2 separate regions of the Homo sapiens genome follow, and region 2 is linked to region 1. Evidence: promoter capture Hi-C in human tissues and cell types (Jung and others, 2019). All regions are on one chromosome and are shown on one strand. Each heading gives the region's core, a stretch centred on a gene start or on the middle of the fragment in contact. The rest is flanking DNA. Distances are from core to core; before and after follow the strand shown.

What was found. The method cuts DNA at HindIII sites, captures the fragments that hold promoters and counts their contacts. A contact is called where the count stands out against the background at its distance.
Region 2: a fragment that was not itself captured here is called in contact with the fragment with the promoter of CISH in region 1 in 3 of the 25 tissues and cell types used here (dorsolateral prefrontal cortex, heart right ventricle and mesendoderm cells).

The regions. Positions count from the first base shown.
Region 1 is chr3:50,608,720-50,615,973 of GRCh38, reverse strand. CISH (cytokine inducible SH2 containing protein) reads left to right here and starts at 4,200. Exons shown (of 3, transcript NM_145071.4): 1 at 4,200-4,343. The coding sequence starts at 4,324. It also overlaps a transcript of MAPKAPK3 not described here. RefSeq lists enhancers at 1-60, 3,682-3,771, 4,681-5,241 and a silencer at 3,852-4,331. The HindIII fragment of the contact is 7,054 bases long and covers 62-7,115 here.
Region 2 is chr3:51,183,266-51,190,519 of GRCh38, reverse strand. The region is part of intron 12 of DOCK3 (dedicator of cytokinesis 3); the gene reads right to left. Among named protein-coding and RNA genes, the nearest start is that of MANF, 200 kb to the left of the region's middle. The HindIII fragment of the contact is 4,418 bases long and covers 1,906-6,323 here.

The DNA.
Region 1 (7,254 bases), core at 2,951-5,450:
CACTCACGGACCCCTGGGCTGCATGTGCAGGCTCATCAGAGAAGTAGCTCTTGGAAAGATGATCTTCTGTCAATGAATGAGTGAATGAGTGACTGAAAGGGTGCTACAACTTATTAGTGGGTACCCACTGTGTGCAGATGTTGAGTGGAGATGGGGTTGGGGCTCTGCCCCTATTTCTTTCAGGCAACCTTCAAGCTAGCAGTGTTCAGTGAAGCAGGAGGCTCCAGACAATAGCCTCAGCTGGCCATAGTGAACACTTCTTGCAGACCAGATGCTGGGAATGTGCTCTCCCTGCAACCCCCTGACCTTACAGAGCCTAGAGGAGGTCACACTATCCCTTCTGCCCCACACTACAGACACACAGGACAGAAAAGCCCAGAGAGGTTAAGTGACCTGTCTGAGGTCAGCAGCTGTCATGACAGAGCCCCCATTCCAACTCCAAAGCACAACCTCAGGGCTGGGCTCTTATCCTCAAACCATGGCCTCCTCTCCTAGTCCTTTCTGGCTCCTCACACAGCCACATGTGCAAACATACTCTCACACATGTACACATGCAGTCACACCTTTACACATGTGCACACACATGCATATAACACGTATAAACACACATGCATATAACACACATGCACACAGATACACATGCACATGTGCACACACACATGCATTTATGCCCAGCTGGACCCAGGATTGATGTCCCTGAGCCCAACCTGAGAATCTGATTCAAGATCTCAGAGCCTCTTTGAAAGCCCTATGATCTGGAATCTTCTACTGCTGGGGGGAGCCAAAGAAGGCTCTCTGCTCTCTGAAGGCAACTAGTTTGAGCCTGGTGAACCTGAGGCTGAGCAAGATGTCATTCTGGTGAGCAGAAGGCTAGGCAGCTGAGGGTGGAGGCTGGCTCCTTGCCCCAGCCAAAGGCATCCCACTGAATGTTCTGTGAAGATGTCTTCTTTCTTTAAAATGGAATTAGATTATAATTGCTCTACAAATTTTATAATTGTATTTTTTAAGCTGGTCTCTTTTATTAAAATTTTAAGTTGCATAAGTAAAACTTCCTCATTGTAATTAATTCAAATTATACAGAAGTATGAAAAGTAAGGCAAAGGTGCTGCTTCTCCCCTCCCAGTCCCTATAACCAGTGTCCATGCTTCCACAGGCACACGCATTCCCCACATGGGTCCATCGGAGAGATGCCTTGAAACTACTCACTTAGCCCAGGAAAGTCAGAATATGTGGTTTCCCTTAGTGCTCATGTTCCAGCAACCACCTGCAGCATCCCCTCCACAATGATGGGAGGATTTGGCATGCAGGATGGCTAGGTCTGGTCAGGAGTGGGTTCATGATGGCAGACTCTGCCACACAGCCCTTCATGTAGCTGTGTGTCCAAGGGGACAGAGACTTTGGAATAGCTTAAAGTGAGGGGGGCTAAATCCTACACACACACACACACACACACACACACACACACACACACACTCTGTCCTTACTGGAGAGGGGAGGCTGTACATGGTGAGAGGATGGAGGCCAAATGAGCGAGACTTTTGGGAAGGCACTGCTGTGTATTCTTGTGATTCATCTTGTGATTGTTCTGGGTAGGGAGTGGCAGGGGAATCTTGCAGTAAGTTCAATCCCTGGGGTGCAGGAGAGGGATTATCCTAGAAGAGAAGAATCTATGGAAATTTGGCTAGTGAGGGCATGAGAGGGGGCACCGCTAGGTGGCAGTGTGGGCCCAGCAATCAGAGCCAGGGTTTCTAGGGAGCAGCCAGGGCAGGAGAATTAAGTACTAAGTTGGCCAGAGGGACCCAACTTAGTACTTGGGGCAGAACAGGGGCACATCACTGTTCCCAGCATGCAGGTGAGGTGCACAGTGCTGTCATATTCACACACACACAAAAATAGTTGGAAGGCCAAAACCCTTGGAACCCTTTGGTTTACACATAGACTGCATAATCACTGACCTGTAGGAGATACTTTCAAAGGGACACCCATGGTGCTCTGACATGGACAGGCCTGGGGGCAGAGAAGCTTCACTGAGGACCTTAAAGCTGGATGTCTAGGAGTCGGCAGATCACCAGCACCCATAGAGGAAGTAGGAGGAAGTGTGTAGGCTCCTGGCTTAAACCATTACTTGCCAGCTGGGAGATCTAAGTTATATTGTAACCTCTCCATGCCTCAGTTTTCTCACCTGTAAAGAGGAGATAATATGTGGTAGTTGTGACAATGACATGAGGCTGCAAATTGCTGAGAGTGCTTGACACATAGTAAGTGTTCAGTTGAATAGTCATGGTGAGGGGGAAGAAGTATAGTTTTGGTAGAGAGCTTGGGATTTGGCCCCATAAGAGACCCAAGTTCAAAATTGTAACTCTGTTGCCTGGCAGCGGCAAAGTCCTTTTGTCTTCATAGTAATGAGACAGTGGACAGTTCCTACTGGCAAGTCAGTGGTCCACACAGGGGCCGCATATCAGGCTATCCAGGTATCCCAGCCCTCAAAGTGGGTTATAAGGTATCCATCCCCCCTACCCCCATTCCAAGAAAGTGGCTTCTGGCCAACTCAGGAGGGGGCTGGCAGAGTTGCACTCATGAAGCCCGGCTTCCCTTCAGGAAAGCTACAGAGAAGTGACTGCCCTGAAATCTGAAACTTAACGTTTTTTCCCCAGTTTCACAGGGTTTTGCTTTCAGGTTTCTTTTGCCCTCTGCCATTCTGGGCAGAGCAAACTGAGCCCTGTCTTCCCTGGATGCTATCGTTCAGGCCCTTCAACAAGGCCAGGGGTCTGTCATCCCTGCCCAGGATCTCAGAGCTAGACTCCTTTCTGGGGACCCTGGGGGCACACACTGGGAGGGGGATGGGGGTGGGGAGTGGACCCTGCAACCTCTCCAAATCCCACAGTTCTTCTGGCCCAAGGGTTTGGAGGAGATTCACAGACCCTACAGTCCTTCAAGATGCTCCATAGTGAATCCAGTGAACTGAAAAAAGGTGGAGAGGGTCCTGGTAGGAGCGTGGGCTTCTGATTCAGAGCTGGGACCAAGCTCTTACCCTGCCATTTCCTAGCATTTGTTCCCTGGGGCTGTCTTCTGTCCGCATAACGGGAGCAACACCAGTTGTAGAGGATCAAATGCAGCAAGTACTCCCTGTAGATAAGAGCGAGTGTTACTACTCTGCCCCCGCCATCCCGCCCCAACCTCTATCACCCTACTCCCAGATTATCTCCCTATGTTTTGAGTTGCAGGACTCTCTCTCAGCATTTTTTTTCTGGCGGGGGGTGGGGGTGGTACCAACCCAGAGTCCGGGCCATCTGGGGCTGTCTCTGCTTGCTTTCTCAAATCTGTAGTCTCTTCTCCCCTGACTGGCAGGGCCGGCCAGAAACCAGTGCCAGCCAAGACTGGATGGTCTGCCTGATTCGAAAAGTTGGGGCGTGCTTTCTCCTTCAACTCTTTCAAAGAAAACGTTCTTGTCTGGATCTTTCTGGCTGTGGTGACCGCCGGCTTGACCTCAGTGGACCCACTCATTTCTGGAACTGTCCTCTGCACCCCGCCCTGCCCTAAGTCCCGCTCCAGATCTCACCCCATGCCACCCAATCCGACACCCGACACACAGAGTCCTAGGGTCCAGGAGCGGCCGTCCCAACACGGGGCGCTTGCACACGCCGACAGACCTCCTTGGAGGAGCCGCTCGCAGGGAGGACAAGCCCGGGACTCCGCCCCCCGCCCTGCCACGAGTTCCACCGCGAGATAAGAGGGCCCTTCCCCAACGACGCAGAATGCCAGAAGGCAATCTGGGCGCGGGTTGCTGAGCCCGGGCCCCTCCTTAACTTCCCCGACCCGGTCTTTCCCCACTGATCTCTCCGACCTGCCCCTCTGGGTAGCTTCAGCCCCGGGTCCACGCGCTGCTATTGGCCCTCCCCGACCGCTCGGCTCCACCTTCAGCGTCGCGATTGGTCAGCTCGCGGGGCCCCGCCCCGTTTTCCTGGAAAGTTCTTGGAAATCTGTCAAAGTATTTCCTTTCACTGCTCAGGGCCCCAGACCCGGCGACGGGGCCCGCGCACCCCGCCCGGGCCCCACCGCTCAGCCCGCGGTTCTAGGAAGACGCTGCTTCCGGGAAGGGCTGGAACGCGGCAGACAAAGGATTAGGCAGCAGCTCGCCCCGCCCCGCTCGTCTGGCCCGCCCCCCTCGCCCTCGCAGGCGGTCCGCGCCACTGCCTCTCAGTCCCTGTCCTGCGCCCGCGCGCCCCGGGAGCCTACCCAGCACGCGCTCCGCGCCCACTGGTTCCCTCCAGCCGCCGCCGTCCAGCCGAGTCCCCACTCCGGAGTCGCCGCTGCCGCGGGGACATGGTCCTCTGCGTTCAGGGGTAAGCGCGGCTCTCTGCCCCCTTCCCGGCCACCACGAGGGGCGCACGGGAGAACAGGGGCTTCGTGCTAGCTGCCGGGCATTGGGAGGGCTTGACGGGCCAGAGGTGACTGAGCGCAGACGGACCTCAGGAGCAAGGCTCTGTGTGGGGCTGTGACACTCCCACTCCCCGCCCCCACACACTTACCTCAATTCCCACTGTGGATTGGGAAACCGGGGGCTGGCCGGCTAAAGGAGGAACTCACAGGGTGGGCTCAGCCTGGGTTCTCATTGGAGCAGATGGATGCTAACGGCACGGCGTCCCCCAAGATGTGGCCAACAATCCCAGATATTCTTCTGGGCCCAGAGCACTCTACGCTAGCCTGCCTGCTGCCCTGCCTGCTAGTAACCTTGGACCAGCCCCTGGCCCCCTCTGTCCTGGTGTCCCCTCTCCTGCCCCAGGCTAGCAAGTAGGCTCTTCTTGGGAAGCCAGCCGCAGATCCTTGCCTTTCCTCAGGCTGGCACCTGATGGTCTGCAACTCTCGGGAGGCCCTGGGTTTGGCCTGGTCCTGCTTGGGGTACCCCCACAATCGTCTCACAACCCTGTCTCAGCCCAGTCTGGGATCCCAATGTGAGAAGGACCTTGGCTCCTGCCTCTCATCTTCAAATTTCCCAGACTTGAGGTAAGGGACAGTGGAGAGGGGATGCTGATAAGACAGAGTCTTGACCTGAGCTGAGCATTCCTGGCCATCCACTCTGTCCTGAACCTCAGCAACCCCTTCAACCAAAGGGTCTGATGCTGGCCATGGTGATGTGACAGGAGCTCAGGAAGCTCCAAGGAGAGAGGAAGAAGGTATAAATGGGTGTTCTGCACTCAGGGAGGACTGGGTGGCTGTGCTTATCGCAACTGGCCTGGTGCCAAGTGAGGGAGGGTGGAAGGTGAGGCCAAGGAAGAGGACATGGAGGTGCTGGGAAGACTACTTCTCCCTTGCTGTCTCCAGCAAGTTCCTTCCTCCTGTCTGCATTCTGGGACTCCTGAATACCTGCCCCACCACTGCCTTCCACCCCAGGAGCCTCCCCCTGCATTCCGGGGTCCCATAGCCTCTTTCACTTTTTACCCTAGGTGAGCACCCCCTTGTAAGCTCAGGGCTACTGTTGGGTGTCAGGGAACAAAGTTTTAGACTGCTGCGCTCCAAAGCGGGCACACACATGTACCTAGAACACACCAGCCACTGTCCCCACCATGATGATGACACAGCCATGGACACACCCCTGCCCAGGTACACACTCACCAGGAGCTTGTGGTGATCAACACAGCTATTCATACACCCAGCTACCACATCAGCCCCAAAGGTGCCCACACCTACATGTGGGATCTGAGGACCGGCTAAGCTATCTGGACGTGGCCACCCACAGAGGTTCCAGCCTGACTGGCTAGCCACCAACCATGCTCCTGGGAAGGTAGCTCTGGGCCCCAGCAAGCAGGTCATCTCAAAATTTGGCCTCCAGCTCTCCAAGAGGGATTTCCAAGATCCCACAGTACAGCCAGGGTAGGTGTGGAAAAGTTTTTGTCAGGCTGTGGTGTGCCAGAGTTGTGTGGCCCTTTCTCACTGTGAGTGGTCATAGGGCCATGATTTGTTAGAACCTAGAGGGTCACCTATAACCTACACAGGAGTCAGGTCTGGCTCCTGCCACCAGCTCCTGCCTGCGCCTTCCTGCCTCACAAGCAATACTGGCGCTGTTTGCCCATGCTGTCCTCTCTACCTGGGGTCCCTTCCCCCAGCTCCTTCCTTTGGCCTGGAAGACACAGCTCAGGAGCAAGCAGACCCTGACTCCCCCGTGACACCTGCAGTTTTATGACTTTGCATTATAATTACTCTTAGTGTCATCTTCCCCAGCCAGTCTGGTTCTCCTTGAGGGCAAGGCCATGGTTTCATTATGGCGGTGTCCTGAGGCCCAGCCAGGGACTAGACCCAGAACTAAGGCTTGGAGATGTATTTTGCAAGGAGTGAGGGAGGAGCAGCTGTCTTCCTGGGGAAGTAGAGCCAGTCCCTGCTGCCCTCCCAAGGAGGAAGCCCTAGTATCACCCTGCTGGGTGGGCTTCCCCTAGGAGAAAGCTGCTACTCAGATTTTGGTCGGCTCAGTTCCCCCAACCCCAGCCATCCAAGAATATGGTGTTACTGAACCTCTCAGTGCATGGGTTGGTGGGACCCTTTATTGCGGAAAAGGGAAACTGAAGCCCAGTGAAGAGCAAGCTTTGTACAAGATCGTAGAGCCTGGTAGGGCTGGCTTGCCAGGGTGGGAACTGGAGTGTGGATTAGGTCCCTGCCCTTGGTGGGAGCTCATACTGACAGGAGGTGAGACTTGCCAGTGCCTTTAGAGGCCACTGTCCACCCCAGACCCTCCACTGGGAGAAGCAGAGGCCAGGATAGGCTGACTTGTATGGGTAGGGGATTATTTCAGTCTCTAAGTCCTGGCCAGTGTGGACCTAGGTCCCTCTGAGAGACACTCCTATCCATGGGGAGGTAGCGTGTGACCTCAGGCAGCCTACCATAATCCTGGGGCTTCTCTGGAGGACCCCACACAGATCTATCATAGGATAAATCTACTTGTCTGTCGTAGATCTATCTCAACTAGGACCATTCATCAGTGGGCCATTTAATCAGCCCACTTCAGCCAGGAGGGCACAAACATGAAGCTACTTTGCACTGAATCCTATCAGTGTGGTGAGAACATTAGACATGCCTATAGGGAATGATCTGTGTTTTTGGTTGATATAAAATAGAGAGCAATTAATTACTGTTTAGTAAATGCAGGGCAGTGGAAAAGAATCTTTCAAAAGAGGATCCCCACATGGAAACAATCAAGGTGGCTTTTGTGATGACAAGTGGGGAACGAGATACTGGACTAACTGAGCCCATGGCTGGGTAGAG
Region 2 (7,254 bases), core at 2,865-5,364, 570 kb before region 1:
GCACCACCCCGGCTAACCAGGAGGTCCTGAGTCTGTCCCAGTGACCAGTTCATTACTACTATAACTGGCATCTGAGAAAGTCAACACACTAAGGCTATTTATAACCAAGGAATCTCACAGAGTTTACATCACTCCTCTGCCACCCCTATCAGAGCTGGTGCTGATAGCTGCTGGTGGGAGACTTGAGGACAGGTCATATCACTGGATCTCTTGCATAGGTTCACCAGCACCAGCCTGCAGTATGGCAGTCCCACTGGGCAGCTAGACCCAGAGAGCAGTAGCATTCACAGCAATCTAGCTCTAAGGGACTCTTACTCTTATGGAAAGGGGGAGTACATCACATCAAGGGAATACCCTGTGGGACAAAAGAATCCAGATGGCAGGCCTTGAGTCTCAGATCTTTCCAATGGTGGGAAGTTTCCTTCAGCAGAGGCATAGTTGAAGTGCTGGGCTTAGTGGGGAAAGTCTGTGGCTGTACCCCAACAGTCAGAAAGCCTTTGCGCTTGTGAAGCGTCCTGAGAAGGATATATCTTTTCCCCCTCATCACCACTACAGACACATTTGAGGCTTCTCCCATGTGAGCTCGGTGTGAGTGGACCTATTGAAAGCCTTTCTGGAATGTGGTGAAAAGGGAATGCTTATACACTGCTGGTGGGATTAGTACAACTTCTATGGAAAACAGTATGGGGATTTCTTAAAGAACTAAAAGTAGATCTACCATTTCATCAAAAAATTCCACAACTGGGTATTTACCCAGAGGAAAAGAAGTCAATATACCAAAAAGACACTTGCATATGTAAGTTTATTGCAGTACAATTAACAACTGCAAAGATATGGAACCAACCTAAGTGCCCATAAACCAATGAGTGGGTAAAGAAAATGTAGTATATATACACCATGGAATACTACTTGGCTAAAAAAGAAATGAAATAATGTCTTTTGCAGAAACTTGGATAGAGCTAAAGCCCTTATTGTAAGTGAAGTAACTCAGGAATGAGAAACCAAATACTGTATGTTCTTACTTATAAGTGGGACCTAAGCTTTGGTAAGCAAAGGCATAAGGAGTGATATAATGAACTTTAGAGACTCAGAAAGGGGAGGGTGGGAGAGAGATGAGGAATAAAAAATCTACACATTGGATACAATGTACACTACTCGGGTGATGGGTGCACAAAAATCTGACTTCACCACTATACAATTCATCCATGTAACCCAAAACCACCTGTACCCCAAAAGCTATTGAAATAAAAAAAAAATAGTGGGCAAAGAATCTGAACAGAATTTCTCAAAAGAAGACATACAAATGGTCAACAGATAAATGCAAAAATGTTCAACATCACTAATCATCAGGCAAATGTAAATCAAAACCACAATGAGCTATCATCTTATCCCAGTCAGAAAAAGAAAAAAATAACAGATGTTTGCATGGATGCAGAGAAAAGGGAACTCTTATACACTACTGGTGGGAATGTAAACTAGTACAGCCACTATGGAAAACAGTATGGAGATTTCTCAAAAAACTAAAAACAGAATTACCATTTGATCCAGCAATCCCACTACTGACTGTCTACCCAGAGAAAAAGAAATCAATATGTCAAAGGGATATCTGAACTCACATGTTTATTGCAGCACTATTCACAATAGCAAAGATATGGAATCAATCTAAGTGTTCAATGAATGAACAGATAAGAAAAGAAAATGTGATACACACACCCACACCCCCACATCCCCCGACACAAAATACTATTCAGCCATTGAAAAGAATAAAACCATGTTACCTTTAGTAACATGGATGGAACCAGAGGTCATTGTTTTAAATGAAATGAGGCATGAAAAGACATTCTCACTTACATGTGGGAACTAAAACATTTGATCACATGCATGTAGTGAATGGAAAGATAAATAACAGAAGCTGGGAAGAGTGAGTAGCAGGGAGGAAGCTGATGAAGACAACTGGATTAAAGGATACAAACACACAGTAAGGAGGATAAAATTCAATGTTTGAGAGTTGAGTAGATTCACTATATTTAACAAAAATGTATTGTACTTGCGTGGTGGACACCCTAAATACCCTGACTTGACCACTATGCATTATATACATGTAACGAAATCCCTCATGTACCTCATACATTTGTAGAAATAAAATAAAACCTACATCATCTTAAAAAACAATTACTATGTTTAACCTATGCTGTCTTCAGTGAAACCTACTTAAATAAGTAATATTGTTTTAGCCTTACAATGTTTAGCATATTTAATAAACTTCATTTACTCTTAGAATAACATTAATTCTCTGCTTTCCACTTCGTACTAATGTGCCTCCAAGATATGAGGGCATCTCATGAAGAAATTTTAAAAAGTGAAAATAGTTTAAAATACAAATGAGAAAAAAGGAGCACAAAAGACTATGTTGAGCATTTCTCTAGGGAACAGATAAAGAAAGGAAGGCTCCGTTGTTCATCCTGAGTCTAGCTCTTTCCTCTAATAGCTTATAAGTCACTAATGCCCACTCTGCCCACGTTATCTACCACAATCATATTACATGAAGGCACATCTTGAGAAATCATTCTGTACCATAGTCACTGTATTAGTCTGTTTTCACACTGCTGATAAAGACATACCCCAAACTGGGCAATTTACAAAAGAAAGAGGTTAATTGGACTCACAGTTTCATGTGGCTGGGGAGGCCTCACAATCACGGTGGAAGGCAAGAAGGAGCAAGTCATATCTTACAAGTATGGCAGCAGGCAAAAAAAAAAAAAAAAAAAGCTTGTGCAGAGAAACTCCCGTTTTTTAAAACCATCAGATCTCAAGAGACCCATTCATGAGAACAGCACAAGAAAGACCTGCCCCCATGATTCAATCATCTCCCACCGGGTCCCTCCCACAATATGTGGGAATTATGAGAGCTACAAGATGAGATTTGGGTGGGGACACAGAGCCAAACCATATCATTCTACCCTTGGCTCCTCCAAAATCTCATATCTTCACATTTCAAAACCACCCATGCCATCCCAACAGTCCCCCAAAGTCTCAACTCATTTTAGCATTAACTCAAAAGTCCACAGCCCAAGGTCTCATCTCTGCCAAAGCAAGTCCCTTCCACCTATGAGTCTGTAAAATCACAAGCAAGTTAGTCACTTCCTAGATATAATGGGGGTACAGGCTTTGGGTAAATACAGCCATTCCAAATGGTAGACTTTGGCCAAAACAAAGGGGCTACAGGCCCCATGCAAGTCTGAAATCCAGTGAGGCAGTCAAATCTTACAGCTCCAAAATGATCTCCTTTGACTTCATGTCTCACATCCAGGTCACGCTGATGCAAGAGGTAGGTTCCCATAGTCTTGGGCAGCTCCACCCACTGTGGCTTTGCAGGGTATAGCCCCTCTCCTGGCTGCTTTCACAGGCTGGTGTTGAGCATCTGTGGCTTTTCCAGGAGCAGGGTGCAAGCTGTCTGTGGATCTACCATTCTGGGGTCTGGAGGATGGTGGCCCTCTTCTCACAGCTCCACTAGGCAGTGCCTCAGTAGGGACTCTGTGTGGGGGCTCTGAACCTACATTTCCCTTCTGCACTGCCCTAGCAGAGGTTCTCCATGAGAGCCCTGCCCCTGAAGCAAACTTCTGCCTGGGCATCCAGGCATTTCCATACATCCTCTGAAATCCAGGTGGAGGTTCCCAAACCCCAATTCTTGACTTCTGTGCGCTGGCAGGCTCAACACCATGTGGAAGCTGCCAAGGCTTGAGGCTTGCATCCTTTGAAGCCACGGCCCAAGGTTTACATTGGCCCCTTTCAGCCACAGCTGGAGCAGCTGAGATGCAGGGCACCAAGGCTAGGTGCCCTAGGCTGCACACAGTGTGGGGAACCCTGGACCTGGCCCACGAAACCACTTTTTCCTCCTAGGCCTCTAGGCCTGTGATGGGAGGGGCTGCCATGAAGATCTCTGACATGCCCTGGAGACATTTTCCCCATTGTCTTGGGGATTAACATTCAGCTCCTCATTACTTATGCAAATTTATGCAGCCAGCTTGAATTTCTCCTCAGAGAATGTAATTTTCTTTTCTATTGCATTGTTAGGCTGCGAATTTTCCAAGCTTTTGTGCTCTGCTTCCCTTATAAAACTGAATGCCTTTAACAGCACCCAAGTCACATCTTGAATGCTTTGCTGCTTAGAAATTTCCTCCACCAGATACCCTAAATTATCTCTCTCAAGTTCAATGTTCCACAAATCTCTATGACAGGGGCAAAAGGCTGCTGGTCTCTTTGCTAAAACATAACAAAAGTCATCTTTGCTCCAGTTACCAACAAGGTCCTCATTTCCATCTGATACCAACTCAGCCTGGACCTTATTGTCCATATCACTATCAGCATTTTGAGCACAGCCATTCAACAAGTCTACAGGAAGTTTCAAACTTTCCCGCATTTTCCTGTCTTCTTCTGAGCCCTCCAAACTGTTCCTCTGCCTGTTACCCAGTTTCAAAGTTGCTTCCACATTTTTAGGTATCTTTTCAGCAGTGCCCGACTCTACTGGTACCAATTTATTGTATTACTCCATTTTCACACTGCTGACAAAGACATACCCAAAACTAGGCAATATACAAAACAAAGAGGTTTAACTGGACTCACAGTTACACATGGCTGGGGAGGCCTCACAATCATGGTGGAAGGCAAGGAGGAGCAAATCACATCTTACATGTATGCATGTATGCAGCAAGCAAAAAAAAGGGCTTGTGCAGAGAAGTTCCCTTTTTTTAAAACCATCAGATCTCATGAGACCCATTCACTATCATGAGAACAGCATGGGAAAGACCCGCCCCCATGATTCAATTATCTCCCACCAGGTCCCTCCCACAACACATGGGAATTATGGGAGCTACAAGATGAGATTTGGGTGGGGACACAGAGCCAAGCCATATCAGTTACCCTGAGAGAGAGAACATGCAGTTAGCTGACACTTAGAAGCTTTACTATCTTAGAACAAGAAAGCAAAGCCTCAAAATATACAATGGAAACTCTGAACGTACATTTTGTTTGATCTTTACAGAGTTCATTACTTGGTGCTTGCAGGCTACTTATTAAATGCCTACTTGACCATTATATTTAAGAAAGGGACCTCTGCTCCTTAGTACAGAAAGAATGTTGGACATTCTTTTCCTATTTATTTGCACTCTTTATAAGAATTTTAGAGTCACAGAAAAATTGCAAAGATATTATAGAGAGGTCCCACATATCCTGCACCCAATTTCTCCTATTATTAACACTTTATTTTATTGTACATTTGTCATAATTAATGAACCAATACTGATAATTTACTATTAGTTAAGTCCATACTTTATTCAAATTTTTCAGATTTTCTTAGTTTTAACCTAGTATCTTTTTTCTGCTCCAAGATCTCATCCAGGTACCATATTACATTGAGGTATCATGTCTCGTTAGGTTTCTCTTGACTGTGACAGTTTCTCAAACTTTTCTCATTTTAGGTAAAATTGACAGTTTTGAGAAGTAATAATCAGGTATTTTGTAGAGTTTTCAGGTGGGATTGTTCCCATATTTTTTCCATGATTAGAAGTAATGTGTTTTGAGGAGGAAGATCACAGAGATGAAGTCTCAGTCTCATCATATCATATCAAGGGTACATACTATCAGCATGACTTTTGCCTGCTGATGTTATCCCTGATTATCTGGTTGAAGTAGTGCTTGTCAGGTTTCTTCACTGTAGTTTCCCTCAGCCCCCTTTCCACATTGTTATTTTTAGAAAGAGTTCAGTACGCACATCTCACACTTAAGGAGTGGGGAATTATGCTCCACCTCCTTGATGGCTGAGTATCTATATGCATACGTTACTTGAAATTCTTCTACATAAGAGATTTGTTTCTTCTCCCTCAGTTATTTATTCCATCATATTTATTCAAGTATCAACTCACGGATATTTATCTTATACTTTGGGTTAAAATTCAGTAACTTTTTTTTTTTTGGCTAAAATTGTTCCAATTTTGGCCATTGGAAGTTCTTTCAGTTAGCTTCAATGTTCCTTTGATATACTCCCACCACTGTGGATCTTCTAAAATTTTAAAAAAATTTTGAGCATGTCTTTGCTTTCTGGCACTTTCTGCTTCAGGATCATTTTGTATATTACCTACTCTAGTCCTAGACTCAGCCATTTATCTAAAGAGCCCTGGTTTTTTTTCTTTCTTTTTTTTTTTTTTGTTTCAAAGCAGACTTTTGCTCTTGTTGCCCAGGCTGGAGTGCAATGGCACGATCTTGGCTCACTGCAATTTCTGCCTCCCAGGTACAAGCGATTCTCCTGCCTCAGCCTCCTGAGTAGCTGGGATTACAGGCACCTGCCACCTTGGCCGGCTAATTTTTGTTATTTTTAGTGGAGACGGGGTTTTGCCATGTTGGCCAGGCTGCTCTCGAACTCCTGACCTCAGGTAATCTGCCCACCTTGGCCTCCCAAAGTGCTGGAATTACAGGCATGAGACACCACCCCGGCCTGTATTTTTTTGTTTGTTTGAAAATGATATTAGAAACCAAGATCTAGGCTCTAGGTATGGTCATTGCAATTGGAGTGCTTCCTGTAGGCCCTCTCAGCTGACAAAGTGAGGAAATATTTGTATGTATACTAATGTATGTATGTGAACATATTTAAAATCTTTTAATATGTAACTGTATGTGCCTATATTAAGCTAGGCATGAGTTTATACAATGTCTCCAACCCTACCCCACTGCTGTGTGAGGCATTCCAATCTATAACCCTTGCTTATGTATAACCTCCTATTCTAAGAATGAGTAGGAGCCTGGTATAAACTGCTCCTTCGTGTTTAATTCTTGTGAAACTTTATTTTTACTTCTATTTTATCATTTATTTATCTTGTATTATAATTAATTTATGTTTGGTTTTCCCAATCAGACCATTAACTCCTTGAAGGTTTGGATGATGTCTTTAATTGCAGAATATTAAAGGTAAAAGGAATTTTAGAAATCTAGAGGAGAAAACAATACATACCATTTAGACCCTATAGGGATCTGAGTCTCAGCTCCCTGATGTACAGCCCAAAGTCCCTCTTACTATTCCTCTTCCTCTCACTCTTCCCCCCACCCCCAACCATTTCAAGATAGCTCTTCTTCTCACTCTTGATGAGAATGAGTAAAAATGCCACTGGTATCTCACCATTCCTTCACACTTTAATACACCCAGAAACCAAAGAATGGGTTAGTATACACTTAATTTTTACAATGTTAGGCACATGCAATCAA